2 separate regions of the Homo sapiens genome follow, and region 1 is linked to region 2. The links are contacts of gene promoters, found by promoter capture Hi-C in blood cells and fetal thymus (Javierre and others, 2016). All regions are on one chromosome and are shown on one strand. Each heading gives the region's core, a stretch centred on a gene start or on the middle of the fragment in contact. The rest is flanking DNA. Distances are from core to core; before and after follow the strand shown.

The links. Contacts are between HindIII fragments. The CHiCAGO score rates a contact against its expected background, and 5 or more counts as called.
Region 1: a contact is called between the fragment with the promoter of IKBIP here and the fragment with the promoter of TCP11L2 in region 2, in 2 of 17 cell types (naive CD8 T cells and total CD4 T cells). The highest score is 10.5, in naive CD8 T cells.

What each region holds. Positions count from the first base shown.
Region 1 is chr12:98,640,407-98,646,067 of GRCh38, forward strand. IKBIP (IKBKB interacting protein) reads right to left here and starts at 4,382. Exons shown (of 3, transcript NM_153687.4): 1 at 4,117-4,382. The coding sequence starts at 4,295. It overlaps APAF1 (apoptotic peptidase activating factor 1), which reads left to right and starts at 4,884. Exons shown (of 27, transcript NM_181861.2): 1 at 4,884-5,429. RefSeq lists enhancers at 3,100-3,727, 3,728-4,354, 4,355-4,982 and silencers at 4,559-4,758, 5,079-5,288. The HindIII fragment of the contact is 4,349 bases long and covers 1,718-5,661 here.
Region 2 is chr12:106,300,956-106,306,148 of GRCh38, forward strand. TCP11L2 (t-complex 11 like 2) reads left to right here and starts at 1,778. Exons shown (of 10, transcript NM_152772.3): 1 at 1,778-1,986. RefSeq lists a silencer at 1,416-1,535 and enhancers at 1,556-2,441, 1,616-1,695, 1,706-1,845. The HindIII fragment of the contact is 6,335 bases long and covers 805-5,193 here.

The sequences.
Region 1 (5,661 bases), core at 3,132-5,631, 7.7 Mb before region 2:
TCCAGCCTGGGCAACAAGAGCAAAACTCCATCTCTCAAAACAAAACAAAACAAAACAAAACAAAACAAAACAAAAAAGCAATTAAAAAATCTATTGAAGTTTCCATAAGAAACAAAATTTTCACAATGGAAATTCCAGCTGATTAAATTTCTATGTAATTAAATAAGCATGAGTGACAGGTTTTGTGTCTTGTTTAGTAATTTAACAACTTTTTAACTTTCTGAAAGTAGAATCACCTCAATTCTTACCTGAAAAATTTCTATAAGAGTTTAGAAAAGAGCTATGCAAACTGACACTCAAGCCATATGGGTTTGGGCAACTTATCTCCAGTGTTTATTGTCAAGATGACATAGGATATATCAGGCCTTTTTTTTTTTGCAGGGTCTCACTTTGTCACCCAGGCTGAGTGCTGTGGTGCAATCAAAGCTCACTGAAACCTCAAATTCCGGGGCTCAAGCAATCCTCCAACCTCAACCCCCCAAGTAGCTGGGACTACAGGCATGCGCCACCATGCCTGGCTAATTTTTTGTATTTTTTGTAGAGACAGGGTTTTACCATGTTGCCCAGGCTGGTCTTGAACTCCTGAGCTCAAGATCCGCCCAACTCGGCCTCCCAAAGTGCTGGGATTACAGGTGGGAGCCACCACACCTGGCCTATCAGGCCTTTATTTAGCAGAGAGAAGATATTAAAGCAACACACTTTTAAGTTTCTTATGTATTATTTCTCTTTTCTTTCCACATAGGAAATGGTCTGAAGACAATGATATAGTGTGATTCCTTGAAATCCTTCTTGGGCAGTGGAAGGGTTCAGATTTTTTCCCTCCAACTTAATCAGATGAAGAGTGAGAGTAAGCAGTATTTAAGAGTACACAGACAGGCACACATATGCACTTGTATTTTAACCACCAGGGCCGTGTCAGTACGGAAAGCATTTAATAAAGATTTGATAGACCGACTTTTAGATGCTGAATTACGTGTTTTAGTGGTAAAGATCTCAATGGCTTTGTCAAAATTCTAGTGAGCTTTTAAGTATTTTAAGATGCCAAATACTTGCTTTTTATCTGGAAAATGTTTACAAATGTCTTATGGGGATATATTTTTATTTCAAAATTTACTATGAATAAATATTTTGCAATAAACAGCAACCAAAGTACATTTGCTTCAATTTTTGCAGCAAAAGATTTCACAAGAGCAACTAAGAGGCAACTATTTAAATAATAATTATAGAATCTGCCCATAAAAAACACATATAATACATACATTTTAGAGAGACAGGGTCTTGCTCTGTCTCTCAGGCTGGAGCACAGTGGTATAATCATGGGTTACTGCAGCTTTGACTTCCCAGACTCAAGCTATCTTCTCACCTCAGCCTCCCAAGTACCTGGGACTACAGCGAATGCCACCACACTTGGCTAATATTTAAAAATTTTTCGTAGACACGGTCTCACTATGTTTCCCAGGCTGGTTTCAAACTCCTGACCTCAAGCAATTCTCTCGCCTCAGTTTCCCAAAGTGTTGGGATTATAGGCATGAACCACTGGGTCTGGCCCCCAAAATTATTTTTGATATAGCATTGTGTTATCATTTTGCAAACATAGTTCAAATTAAATCTTCCTAATGAATGTAATACATTCATTACAATGTAATACAGGAATCACTAACAGCAAATTCCTGATGTGAGGGAAATTTTATTCCCATAAAGTTTAGTTTTCTATTAAAGCTTATCCCAGGATAGTAACTAACTTTCCCAAAACACAAAAGGTTACTTATTTATTTAGGCGAAGTCTCGCTCTGTTATCCAGGCTGGAGTGCAGTAGCAGATCTTGGCTCACTGCAACCTCCACCTCCCAGGTTCAAGTGATTCTCCTGCCTCAACCTCTGAGTAGCTGGGATTACACCAGGCCCAGCTAATTTTTGTGTTTTTGGTAGAGATAGGGTTTCACCATGTTGGACAGGCTGGTCTCAAATTCCTGACCTCAAGTGATTCGCCTGCCTCGGCCTCCCAAAGTGCTAGGATTACAGGCGCAAGCCACTGCACCTGGCCCAAAAAGGTTTTTTTTTCAATTTACTTAAAGGAGGTCAAGCATTTTAAGGCATAAGAGCCGTTTATTTAAAACAGTAAATTCAGTACATTTATTCCTTTCAGATCAAAATTAACATATTCCGTATTAGTAAAATAAATAATGCTATCTGCTTTTTTTTTTTTTTTTTTTGAGAAGGAGTTTTGCTCCATCCTGCAGGCTGGAGTGCAGTGGCACGATTTCGGCTCACTGCAACCTCCGCCTCTTGGGTTCAAGTGATTTTCCTGCCTCAGCCTCCTGAGTAGCTGGGATTACAGGAGCATGCCACCATGCCTGGCTTTTTTGTATTTTTAGTAGACACAGGGTTTTGCTATGTTGGCCAGGCTGGTCTCAAACTCCTGACCTCAGGTGATCCACCCACCTTGGCCTCCCAAAGTGCTGGGAGTACAGGCATGAGCCACTGCCGGCAGGCTGACAATTCTATTGTTTTTGAAGAGGGCGTTTAATCACTTTATTGTGACAAAATTTTGTTTGTTTGTTTTTTGAGATGGAGTCTCGCTCTGTTGCCCAGGCTGGAGTGCAATGGCACGATCCCAGCTCACTGCAACCTCCACCTCCCCATTTCGAGTGATTCTCCTGCCTCAGCCTCCTGAATAGCTGGGATTGCAGGTTTGTGCCACCAAGCCTGGCTAATTTTTGTATTTTTTGTAGAGACAGGGTTTCACCATGTTGGCCAGCCTGGTCTTGAACTCCTGACCTCATGATCTGCCCACCTCGGCCTCCCAAAGTGCTGGGATTACAGGTGTGAGCCACCGCGCCCAGCCGTAACAAATCTTTTAACTCTGAAAAATACACTATTTGGGATGAGTCACCAGTAAAGTATAATTCCATATGTAGTAGCATAAAAAATGTCTAGATGTCCAGGGTCTCTTCTAAAATTCTATCACTCTGGAAGATTAACAACAGTCTTACTAAATAACTTTACACATGAATGAAAAATGGAGAAAAATTCTATTAAGATGCCAATCTTATTAAAATGAAATGGGCTATTCCCTCCTCCCGCCAGAAAAAAAAAGGCTGGGAAAATAAAATTCACAAGTTGGTTTTTTTCTTTTTTCTTTTTTTACGAGTTGGTTTTAAGGTTATTTCTAATATTCATTTTTCCTAATGACACCAATATATCGCCATTTACCTGATTTTAAAACTGCAACTGGTTAGTTTTAAGTGAACACAAGTGCTATGTTTTTGTAGCTTTACCATATTCAATCTGTAACTTACTTAATAAAAGACCTTAAATTCATAATGCATGCACGGTGATCAAAATATGAGCACTCCTCCAAGCTCTGCTACTATAACGTTTGCTCCTTTGGGAGCATAATGATATGGTTTTCTTTTTTTTTTTTTTTTGAGACGGAGTCTCGCTCGGTCGCCCAGGCTGGAGTGCAGTGATGCGATCTTGGCTCATAGCAACCTCCGCCTCCCGGGTTCAAGCGATTCTCCTGCCTCAGCCTCCGGAGGAACTGGGACTACAGGCGCCCGCCACCACGCCCGGCTGATTATTCGTATTTTTGGTAGAGATGGGGTTTCACCATGTTGGCCAGGCTAGTCTCGAACTCCTGACCTCAAGTGATCCACCTGCCTCGGTCTCCAAACATAATGATCTGTTTTAAGGTTGCAAGTATTTCCATTAGGTATTTATGGGGTGAGTAGGGTGGGGCAGATGTGTCCCGGAATGGGGCACAGCGGACAGGAAGTAACGGTTTATAACAACGTGAACGCTTCTGACGTGTAGCGGGAGCTTCAGAAAGCGTGGCCGAATCTGCAGCTCTTAACAAATGGCTCGTTCCCAAACCTTAGCCTCAACTCCTTCTGAGCGATAGGGGCATGCTACCAGCACGGGGGGAAATGAGATACAAGAAACGCCCGAAAGGGAAAAACAAGGCTGGGCTGTTTCCTTCCTTTGGGGTCAAGACAGAGGCACAGAAGGCCCAGGTCTGGGAGGTTGGATCACCTCCGGCTGGATGTTGAGCCGGGTGGGAGCCCAAACAGCAGGGGGCCCACAGGAGGCCGGCCCAGGCAGCCTCGCGTCCACTTACCAGGCCAGGCCCAGGCACGTCCCCAGCGACAGCAGGCTCAGGCACGTTCGGGGGTCTGCCCAGCCCCCGCCTCCGCTGCTCCGGGCCACGGGGGTCTTCCCGCCCTCGCTCCGCTTCCCGGGCTCCGCAGCAGGGGCTCCCTTGGGCCCCGACTTCTTCCGGCTCTTCACCTCAGACATGTCTGGAGACCCTAGGACGACAAGCCCAGGGCAGCTTCTTCACCAGGGGGAGCAGGACGTGGCCGCCTTGGCGTTCGTGGGAACCCTGGGCGGTGACCGCGCCCCCTCACAGACTTGGCACCGCCCAGAGCCCAGCCCCTTCCCTCTCCCCGGCATCCTCGTTGCTTCACTGAGTCTTTCAGCTGCCAGCTCCATAGTTCCCCTAGGAGAGGTGGGCGGCGACCTCAACCCACAGCGCCTTCCACTGCGATATTGCTCCAAATCCGAGGAAATTCAAACTCCCGGGCGCGCGCAGGCCGACGGGACCCGAGGAGGAGGGGCAGGACGAAGGGGTCGCGCGCGCCACGTCGGGCGCGCCGCCGCTGCCCGAGTCCGGCATTGGTGGGAACGCGGCGCGTCCCTGAGGCTTAGCCACGCCCCGTCCGCGGGGTAGGCGGGCACTTCTACGCGCGCGGGCATGAGCCGTGGCAGGAGTGCGCGGCGGCAGCGGTGGCCGCCCCTTGGGGCTTGGGGTGTGTTTATTTGCATAAGCGGGCGCGCGCCGTCCGGGCTGGGTGGATCCGGCGGGATTTGACTGCTCCGCTGTCCAGAGGCGGAGAAGAAGAGGTAGCGAGTGGACGTGACTGCTCTATCCCGGGCAAAAGGGATAGAACCAGAGGTGGGGAGTCTGGGCAGTCGGCGACCCGCGAAGACTTGAGGTGCCGCAGCGGCATCCGGAGTAGCGCCGGGCTCCCTCCGGGGTGCAGCCGCCGTCGGGGGAAGGGCGCCACAGGCCGGGAAGACCTCCTCCCTTTGTGTCCAGTAGTGGGGTCCACCGGAGGGCGGCCCGTGGGCCGGGCCTCACCGCGGCGCTCCGGGACTGTGGGGTCAGGCTGCGTTGGGTGGACGCCCACCTCGCCAACCTTCGGAGGTCCCTGGGGGTCTTCGTGCGCCCCGGGGCTGCAGAGATCCAGGGGAGGCGCCTGTGAGGCCCGGACCTGCCCCGGGGCGAAGGGTATGTGGCGAGACAGAGCCCTGCACCCCTAATTCCCGGTGGAAAACTCCTGTTGCCGTTTCCCTCCACCGGCCTGGAGTCTCCCAGTCTTGTCCCGGCAGTGCCGCCCTCCCCACTAAGACCTAGGCGCAAAGGCTTGGGTAAGTTGACCTCCTCGCTTTTCTCCCCGAGCCAGGTTCTTTGGAGGCTTGGTAGCTGATTTCAGGGACTGAGAATTTGAGGACATGGAATATTTGATAACCATCCTGCTCCTGTACCAGGAAGAGAAATTCTGTAATGAGGAAGTAGTAAACTTGGGGTTTTCGTGGATAAACGTGCGCTGTTTTCTGTTTTACGTCCATGAAGAGTTTTGGCTTTCCATTTTGTTGTGGG
Region 2 (5,193 bases), core at 528-3,027:
AATCCTTACAAAGCTAACAAAGGAAGTAATGTTGCCATGTGTCATTGTCACAGAATTACCAGAAGTTTGGGGGATTTGGGTGTTCATCTTTCTATTGTGGAGTTTTTAGGGTGGTGATGGCAGTTGTGTGGTGGTTGTCATTTGGCAGGAATTGAAATTGGAGGCTTCTGTCATTCTGATTACTTATCCAACGAATGACACAAATAAGAGCATGTTTGTAGGGAAGAACTCAGGTGGGGACAGCACCTTCTATTTAATCTCTTAACCTGTATTATTAGGTTGTATATTTTAGGAGAAGAGAGGAAAGTGGCAAAAGGAGGCACAGATACAAATTTATACAGATCACCAGCTAAGTTTGGCCACAGTGGTTTGCCAAAGAATTTCAATAACTAATACTTAGAGTGCTTACTGTGCACCCTGCTAAGCACTTCACATGCTTTATTTCACTTTATCCTCAAAATAACCCAAGGAAATAGCTATCATTGTTATCCCCAGAGACCAAGATCTCATGGATAGTGAATGTCAGAGCCAGGACTGGAACCATAGAGGAGTCTGTGTTGTAACCACTGAACAACTGACTTTCTACCCTGCTTTAAAATGTTGCCTGTTGTTTGTTGTTGTTGTTTTTGAACGGTGGTGGCCAATCTGCCTCCACAATCCAGACATAATTTCGGCACTAAACAGAAATACTTTAGTCTATACAAACTTCATGTAAGTAGTTCCTGCATGAAACTATTTCCCAAGTAATACAGCACCGATTTACACCTGGCAGAAGGCATAGTTTTGATGTGAACAGTTGGGGGAAGCTTGTTTCTCTACACCCTCAAGCACGCCCACAGCAGGAGCTGAGCAGCAGGCCAGACGGCACAGAGCCCTCCTGGGACTGGTTATTTACATTAACCAAGGTGGAAACTTCTCCCGGAGATAGGTGCTGCCAAGAACCCTAGAGGAAGTAAGACGCTTTATCTTTTGCACGCACGCCAAGTCTTCAGAGGGCCTGGATGGGTGTGACTCCAAGGAGCTAATCGTCCCGTGCAGGTGCAAATCTAGACCCGTGTTTATGTGGAGGTGTAGACGCAACTGGAGATGACCCGGTTAGTGGCTGACGTGCGTGGGAAAGCCCACCAGCAGCGTTGTTGGTTGGGTTGTCTCTGTAAGTGTGGACAGTGTGTTGGTGGGCACCCAGTTCCGATTGCCCCGTCTAGACAGGGGTGTGCGGGCACTCAATGTTCCACGCGCGGCCGGGAGCTCGCAGTGTGGTCCACGCCAGTGCGCCTGGAAGCCCAGGGGATCTGTCCGGCACTCCACTGGAGGCTTGGCCCGCGGCTTCGCCCACCTCCCCAGAGCCCCGCTCAGCCCCCGCTCCCCCCGCTCAGCCCCCGCTCAGCCCCCGCTCAGCCCCCGCTCAGCCCCCGCTCAGCCCCCGCTCAGCCCCCGCTCAGCCCCCGCTCAGCCCCCGCTCCCCCACTCGGCCCCGCCCCCAGTGCCCTGGCAGGCCCCGCCCCCAACGCCGGGCGCTCCCGTCGGCTCGGCGGCCTCAGTTCCGTAAACACTTCTCACCCCGCCCCCGGCAGCCCGGACCGCACCACTCGCCGCGCGGGGGAACCGTGCCCTCTCGCATCCGAAACACCCTCCCATCCGAGCTGTTCTCGGCCTCTCTGGTTCAAACTGACGAAGACTGTTTCTCTAATAGGTTCAGTCTGTGAGCGCTCGGCTTTCGGAGACTGAAGGGCCCTGGATCCCCTTGCCCCGTCGCGCCGTCGTCCCCCCGCTATCCGGTTTTGTGATGGCCGCGCCGTGGCTGCCTCCCTAGAGTCCCTCAGGGCCCTTTAAATACCGCGTTGGGGGGGACACTGGGGCTGGGGGGGTTTGTTGGGCTGGTGAGTTTTCGAGGTGACTGTGCTGTGCTCGGTGAGGGGACGCCCAGAGAGCCCTGACCCGGGGTCACTCCGTCGCCGTTCTCCTCTTGTCTACGTGCTGGACCCGGTGCGTATCCATCACGGGGGAGGCGTTGCCGGCTCGGAGGTGACCGGCCAGGTCCAACGGAGGGGACACCGCTGCAGCCCGAAGGCTCCCCTGCCCTATCTCGGAACTCCATCCTGGGAAGGCGGGGTCAGGGGCCATCAAGCTCGGCTCCTAGTTCATGTCTTCCCACTCCGCGTCCCCTTGTTTGACCTCGAACTGCCGTCCCGCGTGGGAGCGGGGAGCGGGGCACCGAGTGGCCGCCCCGCGTGTCGGGGTGGACACGGACTTCGGGCCTCGGAGGCCGCTTCGCCGCTGTTTAAATCCTGCTGGACAGGTACCAGCGGCATCCCGCCATCAGGGGCCCAGGGCACCCCCTTCCCCCACACTCCTCGGCCGGGCTGGAGTAGGGAACTGAGCCAGGGTAGAGGCAGGGCGGGCCCGGCAGCGTGTGTTTGGGATTTGTTGCCGTGGTTTCCCCGGCACTCAGCTCTGCCTCCGCCGTCCCCTCCCCCAAGGGTTTGTTTTGACAGGAAACCTGGTGCTGCTGGAGGGGAGGGGCGGCCAGAGGACGTGGGTGAGGTCGTGCAGACTGCTGCTGCGTCCCCTTGCCGGGACCTTTGGTTAAGGGGAAGAGGTGGAGAAAAGCCGATTGGGCCTGGGCTCGAACGCTGAACCCTCAGGTGTTGCTTGTGCTTCCCAAAGCTGCTACTGTAGGTGGCACCACTGGGGGTAATAGCAATGATTTGAGGTGGCATATGGATGAACATAGTTACTTGTTTTCGTTACTATTAAGAAAATCTGTTCCATTAAGTAAGCAGTTTCACAATGATAGAGTTTCCTTTTAAAATAAATATATTTAAATGCAAAAATCTAGTCAAGATAGAGACGCGGTTACTAAATTATAGTAAAGGTAAGGAGGGAGACGTAGAAATAGTCATGAAGAGTGGCACTCAAACGACTTAAGTTTGGGAAATCTTAGATGGTTGTCCTGCTACCTTAACTGTGAAGAAACTGGACAAGTTGTCCTTGTCCCCAGTGGGTGTCTCAGCACCCATGGTCACCAGCCCAGTCAGGGACTTTGCTCTTCTTACCTGCCAACGGATAATGAGTTAATCTCAGTGGTTCCCACTTGAGGAGGCTCCCTGCCGTGGTCCTTTTCCTCTCTTCTCTAGGGATTTCATGCATCACCCTGACAGCCAGTGGAAGTTGCCTGATTTGAAGAGGCCCAGGGCCGAAGATACCCAGTCATGTGTGGAAGCAGCTTCAATGCCATTTTGTGAGAGGTTGAGGGCCCCAGAGGGGGAAGCACAGGTATTAAAACAAAACAGACCAGCAAGTGTGGGAGGAGTGCTTTCAAATGTGAAAAGTGCCAGGAATCCTTCTCCCTGATGCTGTAATGCCACGTGTAACGTGAACATCTGCTTTGTGGACAGTGACTGGCTTGTTGGCTTTTATCTAGCTCTTTGTTGGTTCTAACTTGATGAAGACCAGTATTGTCTAGATGAATGGTATGGGCCCCTATCCCTCTGCTCTATGGTTTTTGCTTTGCTGTGGATGAATAACTTTAGTGCTGCTATTTAAGACTGATTCTAAAGCAGCATTTTGCAGAAGATGGAAATTTTTCACATCATCTGCAATTTTTTTCTTTAGAGCCCAGACTTAGTCCTCTGACTCCCTTCCCTTTACTACACATATGTGAAGGCTTGTCCTTGCAGCTGACCTCGATCTAGTGTTGAAGGATGGTACACACTAGAAGTTTCTTGAAATTTCTTTTTTGCGTGAGCTAACCTTAACTGGATGGGTTCAATTCCTCAAGGCCCTGCTGGGTAATCTGAATATTTCACTCCAAAATGTTTATGACTGTAAGCAGTTAACCTTTTTGCTAATACGTGGGGTCTAACTAGGGATTTTGCGGTGCATAAAGAATGGCTCCCTCCTAGAGGATTTTCTGTCACTGTAGCGGGGTGGTGAAGAATTGTTTTGGGTGACGTACTCCTTCAGTGATGCCCTTCACAGAATAGCACTTGAGCAGCCATACCAGGATAAGATCAGCTTGCTACCACATGTGCAAGTGTCCACAGGGTGATGGGTAGATGGATTTGGCAGAGTGGGAGTGGAAAGAATGAGCAGCACACCAAATTTTCTCCAGCCAAACTGGAGTGGTAGAGAGCATGGGTTTTAGGGATCCGCTTCCTGGATTTGAGTTGTGCCTCTACACTGCTGTGAACCCTTGGGCAAGTAACGCAACCTCTCTGGGCCTCAGGATCTTATTATAAAATGGGGATAATACTGATACATTAGCTAACAAGGTTATAATAAGGATTCAAGGAGATAAAATATATAAAGAACTTATCATAGAACAGTTATTGAGTGCTTATTACTACCTCAATAATAAGCACTCAATTACTGTTAGCTGTAATTGTTGTTATTTGCTACACGTGAGTTTCTTTAACCTCCTGGAACTGTGGGTCTTTGCTAGTTTGAATTTTTGGTGCCTTGCAAATGCACTGAAGTAGGCACTGGGAATTGGAGAGGAGAGTCATCGCTTCCACCAGCAGCTTAAAATCTAGTGGGAGACAGATATGCACACAAGTGTAGTACTGTAAGTGACTGCGTAATGGGAATATGAGTAATGTGAGTGAGGCAGAAAAGAAGGAAAACTCAAGGTGTCTTATGAATAGGAGTGTGGCGTAATTAGTTCATGCAGCTGTACTCACTGAGCTCCTGCTCTAGCCCTAGCGGTGTTCTAAGCTCTAGCTGGCTCATTAGATGCAGTGAGTGTAGCAATCAGGGAAGGTTACCTCGTAGTTGGTGACATTAAATTTCAAATCTGAATGACAATAGGGAGCCAACCACAAGGAGATCAGGGAGAGGAACATTTCAGGGGCAGAGAACAGCAGGTATGAGTGCCCCGAAATAGGAAGTTTGGCATGTCTGAGGAACGCAAAGAAGATCATGAAGGGTTAGTGGGAGAACACTGCAGAATAAGGTGGGCAGAGTTAAGATCACAGAGGGTTGTAAACCATGGCCCAGTGACTTAGGAAAAGGGAACCCACCTAGGGATGAACTCTTAAAAAGGATTATCTATTTTGCCTTTTCTGGAGGGCTCTGGCCTATTTCCTGTTTTATTCTTTAGGCACTGTTCAAGAAGGACATCAGGACAAGTTTGACTGTCTAGAAGAGTTCTTGTAATAGAGTGGTATTTAAGCTATCACAGCAGTGGGCACA